4 separate regions of the Homo sapiens genome follow, and all the other regions are linked to region 1. The links are contacts of gene promoters, found by promoter capture Hi-C in human tissues and cell types (Jung and others, 2019). All regions are on one chromosome and are shown on one strand. The core of a region is centred on a gene start or on the middle of the fragment in contact, and the rest is flanking DNA. Distances in the headings are between cores, read along the strand shown. Region 1 holds the start of PCNP (PEST proteolytic signal containing nuclear protein). Region 2 overlaps ADGRG7 (adhesion G protein-coupled receptor G7). Region 3 overlaps ABI3BP (ABI family member 3 binding protein). Region 4 overlaps ABI3BP (ABI family member 3 binding protein).

Region 1 (2,768 bases), core at 179-2,678:
GTAATTTTATCCCACAATTTCCAATACAATTTTTTTGGGAAAAAAAATTCCCTAGTGAGAAAGTAGTAGATGGTTTAAATTTAAATTGTTCTTTCATAAGGTATTTTACTAGTTATAAAAAAAAAAAAAGACAGGGGGTGGGGAGGGAAGAGAGAGATGGAGTTCCAGCTTAACTAACAGAATTGTACGTGTTTTTTAAAAAGGAAATCCTGGGTCCAAAGTAATTAACATTACACTTAATCTTTTCAATAATTTTTGTTCCCAAGGCAATTAACATGAAACATTATGTTAGTAGGTCTACTAGTGGCCTTCATATGCTATTAATCGTTTCTATTTTCTCATATTAAATAATTTCGGGAATGATAACTAAGGTGGTCAGAATAGAGAATAATGTTTAAAATGTTCTAAAAACATTTTAAACAGCTCGCACGTGTTAAGTCACTTGTCTTGTTATGTGCAAAGAGGGAGCTGGAGAGATTACGTTTCTTTTCCTTCACGCACAAGACCCGAATTTAGGGAGTGGAATGGACAGAATAAGGATAGCTGTAACCTGAGTTTAACGTCGTAACAAAATACAGGAAGAGTCACGCTAGACTATTTAGTCGCCTAAGTATCTGGCAAGCGGTCAGCTGGCAACAGCCTAAGGGAGATACTTCAAAGAAAAGCAACCAAACCTTAGCCCTAGACCCCGCAGCTTAAACCAGAGGGCAGGCAAAGGCATTCCTCTTCCCCTCCATCACCTCGGCCCATCCTGTCACAGGGTCAATATTAAACTTGGAAGTAAAGGAAAGAGAGCAGGCCGGAGTTGTCCACCTCCTCAGTGAAAAGGGAGCAGCAAGCGTAATTAACTCCTGCGTGTAACTGAGAGGCCGGCACCGTCAGAAACTCAGCCTGCGGCCAGTTCCCGCGGCAACTACTCGGTGGCTCGCACTGTGTGTATGTTATGTCTCATGAGCGTCTCCGGTGTGTGTGTTTTGTGTGATGTGCGTCTCCGGTGTGGCGGTAGCGGCTCCTGCACCGCCGCTCCTGGTCCCACCCCGAGTTCGGTCTCCCTTTCTGGCGCCCATCTCCCTTCTCCTCGGAATCAGGGCCTCCGCTGGGGCCAGGAGGTGACGAACAGTGGCCGGCTCTCCCCAGGCAAGGAGGCGATGTAGGCCCGGAGCCCAGAGGGCCGCATCGGGCGTGCCCGAGGCAGGTCTGGGCCCAACACCTGGCCGGGTGAGGTCCAGATCCGCCCATTCTCGCCCCACCCCACTCCCCCCACCCTGGGAGCTCAAAGAAAGGCCCGGAGCATCCCACGCTGCCCACGACGCTGGGGTTGTGTTCACCTCCGGCGGCTCCAGCTCGCTGCGACTTTTCAGGCTTCTCGTCTCCCGCCTTCCCGTCCGCCATTTTCCCCGCCGCGGCCTCCCCTGCAGCCACGCCAAGGACGTCACGACCCCGCCCAACAACCATCGAGTTTTTGGGGCCAGCCGGCGTGGTGGCAGCCTAGAGCGGTCCCGAGGAATGAAAAGAGGCCGCCTTCGGAAGCGGAAGTGGATGTGATGTCATCGAGTAGCCGCCTCGGAAGGAAGAGCTGGGAAGGTTGGGCGGTCTAAGAGTGCTGGCTAGGCACTTTATTAGAGGGCAGTCAGGTCTTCATGGTCTAGCGACAGGTCCGGAGAAGTGAGGGGAAATGGAGCATCTCCCTGGAAACGCTGGGATCTTAGAAGGTTTCTGCATACCCAGATGTGGTTGCAGCTGAGGCTGAGAGTGTCTTCCGTTCCGGCCTTGCTGGATAACGCATGCCTGCCAACTCTATGTAAACAAAAAGCCTGCATTCTTTTTCCCTAAAGGGGAAATCAGTGTTTATCTAGCGCCCCCTAGCTTCAGACGCCTTTCATACACTCGTTTAATCACGGCGATTGTCCAAATATAGAATTCTCCTCTCAATTACCTGTAAGAGTTGAGGTCAGAGAGAGTAATTTGTCTAAGTCACGTAGCCAACTGTAAAGTTACTTTTTGTATAGTCTGCTTCTACCAAGTTGAGAAACTACTATGTCAAGTTAAGACTGCAGTAATTTCTGCCTTAATAAGAAACCTTTAGTGGATTCCTACAGTCTGCATTCTGAAGTCCGTGAGTTACATTAGGCCCTAGCCTACCTTTTCGGCTTCATCTTCCCCCTTTCTCAGTATTTATCCAGCCCTCCTAGCCAAATGGGGTCTATTACTTGCTTAGGGAACTGGAGTTTCTGGGTTTGTCTTACCATATATAGTTAGAGAAAGTCTTAGGAGTCAGAACTTGGATTTGAATCTGTTTTGCCCTTTCCTGCTTGAGTAACCTTGAGACTTGCTTACTGCCTACAGAGCTACCTTTTCTTCTCTATAAAAGAGCAATAATAATAGTACCTCCTCAAAGAGTGGTAATAGGGATCAAATGAGATCATCTTTGTATACCATTATTTGGTCACTTCATACTTCCCTCAGTTTGTGTGTGTGTGTGTGTGTGTGTGTGTTTTAAGTGTTGTCTCTCTGAATGGCTCAAAAGTTCCTTGACAACAGAGACCAGTTTTTAAAAACTGTGTACTGTGCGTTTCATATATGAATATAAAAAGTGTTCAATATTTGCGGATGGATTACTTCTCGGGCTTCAAGTCCAGGGAGTGGAGAAAGAATGAAGAAATTATCAAAGTGTGTTTCCCATGACAGAAGCAGGGCAGTGTGGTGGTGATTTTGTGATCTAGGTTGAAGTCCCTGATCCATCATTTATCATATATGTAAAAGTAACC
Region 2 (2,768 bases), core at 153-2,652, 880 kb after region 1:
AAATAAAGGAGAGAAACAGATAAAACTCAAACGAGGTGATTAAAAAGACCACAACAGGTAAGTTTTACTGTCTAGATGCTTTCCTTTGCATTGTCACTTTCAGAGAGTGTGATTTCCTCAGTACTCGGAGAGGTTTCCAGTAGCCTAAAGCGTTCATGTAAGGTTGGCAATGACCTGAGGAAATTATACATCTTTACACGCAGCCTCGGCCGCGTCACTGAAGGCAATGACTTCCTTCTCCCAATAGACGATAGCAACATCAACACTTTGGAAGCTTCACTCTGGAAGACTTTTGTTCTAACAGTGTACAGGATAAAAATTTGCAATCCCTGCAGATAGAACAAAAGTTTAATGTTGGGTAAGTGCTGAGATACAGTATCAAGGAAGACATTTTATTTCACTCTGCCACCCAACCTTCTCATCTGCACGGCACTTCCCCAACTTGAATTTGCCAGTGTGCAGCTGCCATGCACTTTTTAATCTAAGAGGGTTGAGGCAAAGTTTTCCCATATACAAAGACCTACATGTAACAGTACAATAGCAGATATAGAAGACCCGAGTTCAGGTCCTGGGTTGCCACTAGCTGGCTGTGTAAATTTGCTTATTTCATAATCTTGATAATCTTCAACTTCCTGAAGGAAGAAGATTAACTATGAAATACCTAATTCTTCTCCCAGTTCTAACATTCTGTGCTTCCATATTTCTTGGAGTTATAGTAACATAGCTAGAAATTTGTGCACTTAAGGACAAAAAAATGTAAAGCCCTTCTAGTCACTGCTTTTCTGTACTTCACAGATGAAGACCAGATGTACATGAGAAATTGAGCCACAAAACACTGAATAATATTTTCTATATGTTTCCAGTAAAAACTGCCATTTATAGAAGTCATATCAGTATCAGACCCTTGCTTTTCACTTAATCCTCATCATTTGATCATTCTCATGTAATCCTCACATCAACCCAATACAACAAGCTTTATCATCCGCATGTTTCAGATAAGGAAACTAAAGTTCAGATAAACTAAGTAGTTTGTCCACGATCACCCAACCAGTACTCAGTGGAGTCTGGAATTGAATTCTTACATCTTTAGCTCCAAAACCCCTCCTCTATCCAATATACGGTGCTGCCTATACTGTTGCCTGTAACTGTAACAGAAAGTGACTGCAAAGTGTATCATAGCTTTTAAGATGCTGCTGTTAATTCTTTATTAATATCCTTTGTGGAAATGACAGATGAAATAGCATCTGTAGTTAAGTTGATAATATTGTGCCAATGTCAGTTTCTTGATTTTGACAGTATACTATGGCTGTATAAGATATTATCATTTGGGAAAGCTGGACAAAGAATATGTGGGAGCTATACTATTTTTCCAAAATTTTTTATTAAATCATTTCAAAATGAAAAGGTATTTTTAAAAATAAATATCCTTGGATGTCTCCCACATTAGCATCTATAGGGCCCCAACCTTTTTAAGAGTTTATTTTTGGAATCATATCCTGTGAGTACTGTTATTGGAGACTTCTGGTACTCTGGAAAGACCCTTATAGTTTGACTAAAAAATCAATAAGTGTTGGCAAGAGACAGACTTGTTCTCTGGCCAAAAGTAGAAAAAGTAGCTTGATTATTACTCAACAGGTGGTATCTAACACATCAGAAGAAAGGCCCTATGACAGTGTGTGCTTGGAGACACAGGTTTCAGAAGGACAGGAGTGGTCATTGGCCATCCTGATTGTTCAAGGGAGAGAAATTTATTTGGGGCACATGAGAAATCCAGTCTCTAGAAAACCATCTTTTTTGTGGCATACACTATTTCATCTGATTTTTCCAGAATTTAAATTCTAAAGTAAACTAAGATTTGATCAAATTTCTGTTGGTACAATAATTAGGAAAAGACCCTAGACCATGGATAATTCATAAAAACACCATCCTGTTGGACCTGTTTGGGTGGACTCCCAATATTTCTGTGCTTCCTAAAAGCCCAAAAATGTTATTTGAAAAGAAAAAATGTGTGGGTCAGACTGACTACCAGTAACACAAAGTTCAAATTGTGCCTTCTAAGTAATATCTGTAGCATTTAGTAAATGTTTATTAGAATTATAGTATTCTAAATCTAGAAGTTTCACGTGTAAACAAATCTAGATATTCCTACACTTTAGTGTACATAGAAATCACCTGAGGTCCTTGTTTAAAATGAAGAGTCTCAGCTCCTATGCCTGTAGATTCTGGTTGAGTAGGTAAGGGGTGAGGCCCAGGAATCAGCATTTTAACATACTATGTAAGTTCTGATGTAAGCAATATTCAGATCCATTTTACAAAACACTGTGTTGATTTTAACACACATATTGCCCCACTACTCCATTTTATATTTTGCATACCTCACCCACAGAGGTTATGTGATTTTCCTATAATCATAGGAATCAATGGTAAAGCTGAATAACAGCCTAAGTTTCCTGACTTTTAGCTCCATGTCCTTGCCACATTGCGATACTCAATTTTACCATGTTGTAATTTTTATCATTTTACCATTAACAGTTTTTACCATTTTACCATTAACACTTTGTTACGAACCTCTCTTTTATAATTTCCCCCTCCTATGCATGGAGAAGAGAAAATCCTTGACTGTGCCTTCATTCAGATTCCTCCCTAAATTCCTGCTCACTCTGGGCAACAAGCCCATGGATCAATTGGCAATGTCAGATGAGGCTTACCCTACTTATTGATCTTCTAGGAGTTTCCATTTGATACTGACAATCATAAAGAACTGAGTT
Region 3 (2,768 bases), core at 134-2,633, 820 kb after region 1:
TTAGAGTACAGCCCAACTCTGGAATTTGTGTCCCCACAGAAGTGGGGGAACACAAAAAAATGCCCCTTATGGCATAAGAGCCAGCTAGTTTATGACCCCACGACTACTGATACCCTGATTTAGCCTTATTTTGTCTTCTGAGTGCCCCCTTGGCTCTCCCCTCTTGCTCCTTATCTGTGTTCCCAGATCAGCATAATAACTTTACATGTGGCAGGTATCCAGAAATGCTTACCATAATCCTTCAGTGTCCTTGCAGTCAAGCTTACCCAAACTGATTAGATTCTCCTTTCCCATGTTGAGCAGTCCTTCCTCTTTTTTTCTTATTCTACTTGTCCATTTATCTCCCTCTGAACCTTCACCTGAATGGGGATCAAATATTTCACGACTACACTAGGGGTAAAACTCGGCTGAACAACTCAAACCAACAGCTATAGGGTAGACTTTCTATATAAAAAACAGTTTGCTTGAGATTTGTAAGACTTTTGTTAGAATGAAAACCAACTTTTTAAATCAGTAAGGAGTATGTAACTAAAAAGTTTATTAAATAATGAAAACTTTACTTCAGTTCTAAATTGTAGGCAAAAAATAGAAGGAAAAGATTATAGAAAGGATCAAAACGGGGTAGGGAATGGCAAGCATCTGCTCCATCCAGATCTGAAGGTTATGCTTGAGGATATTACCTCTTCCACTAAAGAAGAAATCAGTCTCAGGCTAGAAGCCTACAGGTTGGAGGTTCTTGTCTCTTAACAGTTTTGCTCATGAGCCACAGGTCACACTTTTTGAAATCCTAGTTTTTCACTTTTCAATGAACTGATCTATGTTTTTTTGTTCTCATGCTGATTTTTACAGCTGCTCTCAAACTGTTGGTGTCAAACAATACCCTCTATTATGCCACTCTTCTGAGATAATGCTTTTTAGTGCTTTCTAGACTCAATGAAATATTAATATAACATTTTTTTCTTAGCCTGTGGATCTATGTTGATGGCAGGCAGAAAGGTTTACCTGTTAAATTTTCGATCTTTCCAATAACCCGTGGGCTATACCCTTCTTATAAACTTCACAAGCAAAAAGCAAGTGTGTGGCCATAGAAGAGTTCTGCCTTGAGAGTTCTATGGCAGTGTTTGTCAAATTCCCCAATAACAGAAACTCTTTAAAAAAAATTATCTAGAGATACAAATATGATACTAGTGAATACTTATTACTATGTGTCAAGCACCTTGCTTTTACATGCATTCTCATTTAATCCTCACAGATGCTTTTATAGCCCCCGTGAAGTTATAATTACTATAACGAATAGTATCCTCACAAATAGCATTATCCTCATTTTTATGTAAGAGTAAACTGAAGCTCAGAGAGGTTAAGTTACCTTAAAGTCACACATTAGTGAGCTGTGAATCTTTCTGGTTCTAGAACCCATGTTTTTAACGCCCCCTGGATCATGCTGCCTCCTGATGGGGATGCGCGGGGAAGATTGTTTTTTTTTTGTTTGTTTGTTTTTGGAGGGGATTTACACCTACCCAGGTAGAATCAGGCATGGCATTCTGTGAGGCTTTATTTACCTGGCTTGTCCTAGATGGGGCCAAAAGGCTTGACAGCATTTGTCATCTGGACTGCATTCCATTTAGATATTCATTTTGATGTGGTAGGTCTTATAGTTCTTTAATTTTCATCAGAAATATATGTACAGTTTTAAAATTAAATTATCACAAAAGCATCTCCTCCCTGTTGCTAAATTTGGTTCCCCAGATGCAAATTTTTTTTTTACCATTTTGTCCATTACTTCTGTCAATTAAATCCCTATGTCTAGACTGACCTTTTCACAAGATGCTCAAATACTCCAGTCATTTCTTTGTTCTATTTGTTGTATGTTTTTAATGGCAACATCTCTTTTGGAATTCCTATACATCCTTTGCCTCTGTTTTGAATCCCAATTCCTGCATCACAAGACTTCTTCCTTGTTTACTCCATTACTTTGTAGCACTAAAGAAATAAATCTTGAGGAAAAGTTATAAAAGGCAATATTTTTGAGTCCTCACATGTTTTAAAAGTTGTTTTACTTTGATACTATTCTTTAGCTGGACATATTAGGATATAATGAAGACTTTTGAAGGAATTGTTCTATTTTCTAACTTCCAGTGTTACTGTTAAAAAGTCAAATGTCATCCTGATTCTGGATCCCTTGAACGGGACCTATTTTCTTCTCAGTTTTGAGGACTTGTCTTTATCACCCCAGTACTCTGAAATTTTGTAACTCATGTTTTAGTCCTTTTTCTTTTATTCATTTTGCTGGGCAGAGTAGGTCTTTTCAATCTGGAAACTCTTGTCTTTCAGTACTGGGAAATTTATTACAAAGTTTCTAGGATAATTTTCTATCTCCTTTCCTTTCTTTCTTCTACAATTCCTACTAGTTGGGTACCATATTCTCTGGAATAATTCTCCAACTTTCTTTTCTCTCATTTTTTCATCTCTTTGACTTTTTGTTCTAGTATTTGTGAAATGTCCTCAACTTTATCTTCCAAAACTTCTATTTGAAGTTTCTTACTTCAAATAACTGTTTCCTGAAACTTTAAATTTTATTTTCTATGTACAATCAATATTGAGACATTTCTCTTAGACCTATGATGTCATTCATCTGTGACAAAATGTGCTTCTTCAGAAAAAATTTTACCAACACAAATAATTTTTGTTATATAGGGTTTAATCAGGCCAAAACAAAAATGTGCCTTTCAGTTCCCATGTTAATTAAATTTAGTGCAAAATAATTTCTT
Region 4 (2,768 bases), core at 117-2,616, 760 kb after region 1:
TTTGTTTCAAGGAATGATGTTTTTAGTAAATTGTCAAATTGTAAAATGTACGTAAGTCTTGAAAGTTTTAATGAGAGGCTTCCATAATAGGATAGACTGACTCTTTATTCATCTCTATTAAGATTTAACAGTTTCTTAACTTTTACTGAATCAAGGAATACTTTGAGATTTTGATAAGCACAGTTTATTAATTACATGGTGTTCTTTATGCTTTCATACATATGAACTCTTTATTGTATCCATAGTTACTTAGACAGTAGTTAACAAGATATTTATCCCAACTTCTATAGAAGTGCAAGTAGACTGATAAACGCCTTTTTCAATACAGTTAGAAAAGCATATATTATGCAAATGTGTAAAAAGCTTGTCCAACAATCTTCCACTAATGTGTAGCAAGAATCAGATAATCAAACATCTAGGAGAATGTTTTGTTGACCACATAGTGATATTAAGCTGAGTGCAATGCTGTCTTGCAAATCTGTCTTATGAGACTAATGGGTACCTGACCATGGTTTGGCCAAATCTGCAAAAAACAAGCCTTACTTTTAAGTTCTGAAGCTTAAAAATTGAACTGTGAAATTAATATTCAAGTTAAATCTTTTTGCTTTATTTTATTATTTTTGTCTAGTTGTTACTACAGTCCTTGAACCTGACACTTTTAGAACCAAGTTTCCAGAAACAACGTTAGGTAATGATATTCTGTGTTCCTGAATAACTTTTTCCTCCTTATTTTCAAATCCATTCCATCATTATCATAATCACATTGTCATCAGCTTTGTAGGACTATCTTGTCATCTTCTGCTATCCTTCAACTTTATATTGTCCTTCAACTTTATATTTGAGTATTAGTGATCCTTAGAAGTTACCTATTATTTTCAAAAGCTATGCATGGACCTAGTTCAGAGTCTACCATGTAATCTTATTTGAATTTGTGTCATGTACTTTTGTCTAAACAGCATTCATGTCACTCATGTCTGAAGCTAAATTTCAAACACAGTTGCTGGTGGCTATATCATATCTAAACTGACTAAACTCTAACAGTTCTTATGGTATCATGGATTCTTTGGCATACTCAAAAGATTTAGTGTGAGCCTGAGACTCTATCATCCAGAGTTTGGCTCTAGTGTTTCTGAAGTTAAAGATGTATGAGTCTCTTCACTTTTCAACTTGATTTTATATGTAAGTTTTCTCTCTCAAGAATCTTCAGTGATTAAGAAAATTAACAAAATAGAAAATATTTTAATCTTAAAAGACATATGACTTAAATCTCAAGGAAATATGACATACCTTTAAAAACCTAAAGTTTTGTCTCCAAAGCCACCTGCACTAGAGTAATCCAAAGTTTCTTCCTTCAGCTCCTAAAACACAACGGACACGTCGTCCCCGTCCCAGACCCAAAACTACATCAAGTCCTGAAGTACCTCAGAACAAATCGGGTAAATGTATGAATCCTTGGCTTAAGTAGCCAAGGAACCTGAACCCTGGCAGGCTGTCCCAATAAAGTCCTAAAGAAATGCCTATGACGGGAAGTAACAGTCATCATGTTTTCTAAGAATCAAATTATTTAACATGGGTAGCAACTGCTTCTCGTACAGAGCTATCCAGGAGAACATGGCTTGGAGCCACTTGTGTGCCTGATCTCCTAAATGACTTGGTTTGGATGACGTTCTTGGTCCCTCTTTAAAGATGTGTTTACAGCGAGATTAGCATACTCATGGGTATTTATTGCTATATCTGCATTGAAACATGTGATCCATTTGTTATGATTACATAAACAGGCATTTATTTTCAACTTCCAAGAAAAGCAACAAGTTACTTTCATATATATTTCTCTCTGTATTTTCGTATCTGTTGCCTAAACAAATTTCCAAAGCCAAATATCCATACTAGTTAGAAAACCAAATACCTAGGAAAACCTCATGTGGATAATATCAAGATATGTAACAGAGTTCAAAGGTTGTAACTACCTTCTTTGATGAATTGTTCTAGCTAGTGTGGCCAAATCTTCCAAAAGCAACTATATGCTGCCTATCAATTCAAAAGTTTTAAAAAATTGTGTATCATTTGAAACTCATGTTTTAAAATAAAAATTGAGGATTTTTTTTAAAAAGTCTTTAAGCTTTCTTGTATTCATGTTGTTGCTTTTGGTTAGTTTCTGTTACAGGCTTTGAACCTGTTGTTCATAGTACTGATGCTCCAGGAACAACATTTGGTAATGATTTTTGTGACTTGCATTAAATGCTTTTTATTGCCATTTAAAAACGCACTTGAGCACTGTCATGACCAGAGTTGCTTCTGCTTCCTAAGACGCTGTTATTCCATTCTACACTTCATTTTAAAATAGTCAGCAGTTTTAATTCAAGTGTTACCTGTTGTTTTTCGCAGATGTCCCTGGACCCAGTGAAGGACAGCTGTCCAGCATGAAACTCTCTTTAAATTTGCACCATATGATTCAGTGTTAAATCTGAGGTCCAAATTGGTATTTAGTATTTATAGATCTAAATACCCTTCCATTTGGTATTTAGATCTATAAAGCAACAATTAAGTACCATGAACTCCCTTTGAGTAACTTAGTTTCTATAAAACCTGTGTCTTAGTCTCATTATTTTCTTCCTATTTTAAGGAATAAGGTGTCCCTATTACATTAAAATAGATTTCCCTGAAAGTTCCAGGCTCCTCAATCATTGATAAGCTTGACCACTGTTCTTCACTACTGTTTAGTAATGGCTCTTAATCTTCGCTAAGTAGGAATCCCTCTGAATATCTAT

Evidence for each region. Contacts are between HindIII fragments. The study calls those that stand out against the background at their distance.
Region 2: a contact is called between a fragment that was not itself captured here and the fragment with the promoter of PCNP in region 1, in 1 of the 25 tissues and cell types used here (small bowel).
Region 3: a contact is called between a fragment that was not itself captured here and the fragment with the promoter of PCNP in region 1, in 1 of the 25 tissues and cell types used here (mesenchymal stem cells).
Region 4: a contact is called between a fragment that was not itself captured here and the fragment with the promoter of PCNP in region 1, in 1 of the 25 tissues and cell types used here (mesenchymal stem cells).

What each region holds. Positions count from the first base shown.
Region 1 is chr3:101,572,840-101,575,607 of GRCh38, reverse strand. PCNP (PEST proteolytic signal containing nuclear protein) reads right to left here and starts at 1,428. Exons shown (of 5, transcript NM_020357.3): 1 at 1,329-1,428. The coding sequence starts at 1,392. RefSeq lists enhancers at 909-1,068, 1,089-1,248, 1,329-1,458, 1,559-1,828, 1,272-2,217. The HindIII fragment of the contact is 9,941 bases long and covers 1-2,768 here.
Region 2 is chr3:100,692,305-100,695,072 of GRCh38, reverse strand. ADGRG7 (adhesion G protein-coupled receptor G7) reads right to left here. Exons shown (of 16, transcript NM_032787.3): 16 at 1-329. The coding sequence ends at 72. Among named protein-coding and RNA genes, the nearest start is that of TFG, 16 kb to the left of the region's middle. The HindIII fragment of the contact is 3,606 bases long and covers 1-2,768 here.
Region 3 is chr3:100,756,826-100,759,593 of GRCh38, reverse strand. The region is part of intron 63 of ABI3BP (ABI family member 3 binding protein); the gene reads left to right. Among named protein-coding and RNA genes, the nearest start is that of TFG, 49 kb to the right of the region's middle. The HindIII fragment of the contact is 4,852 bases long and covers 1-2,768 here.
Region 4 is chr3:100,815,356-100,818,123 of GRCh38, reverse strand. It overlaps ABI3BP (ABI family member 3 binding protein), which reads left to right. Exons shown (of 68, transcript NM_001375547.2): 42 at 629-688; 43 at 1,356-1,436; 44 at 2,153-2,212. Among named protein-coding and RNA genes, the nearest start is that of TFG, 110 kb to the right of the region's middle. The HindIII fragment of the contact is 3,105 bases long and covers 1-2,768 here.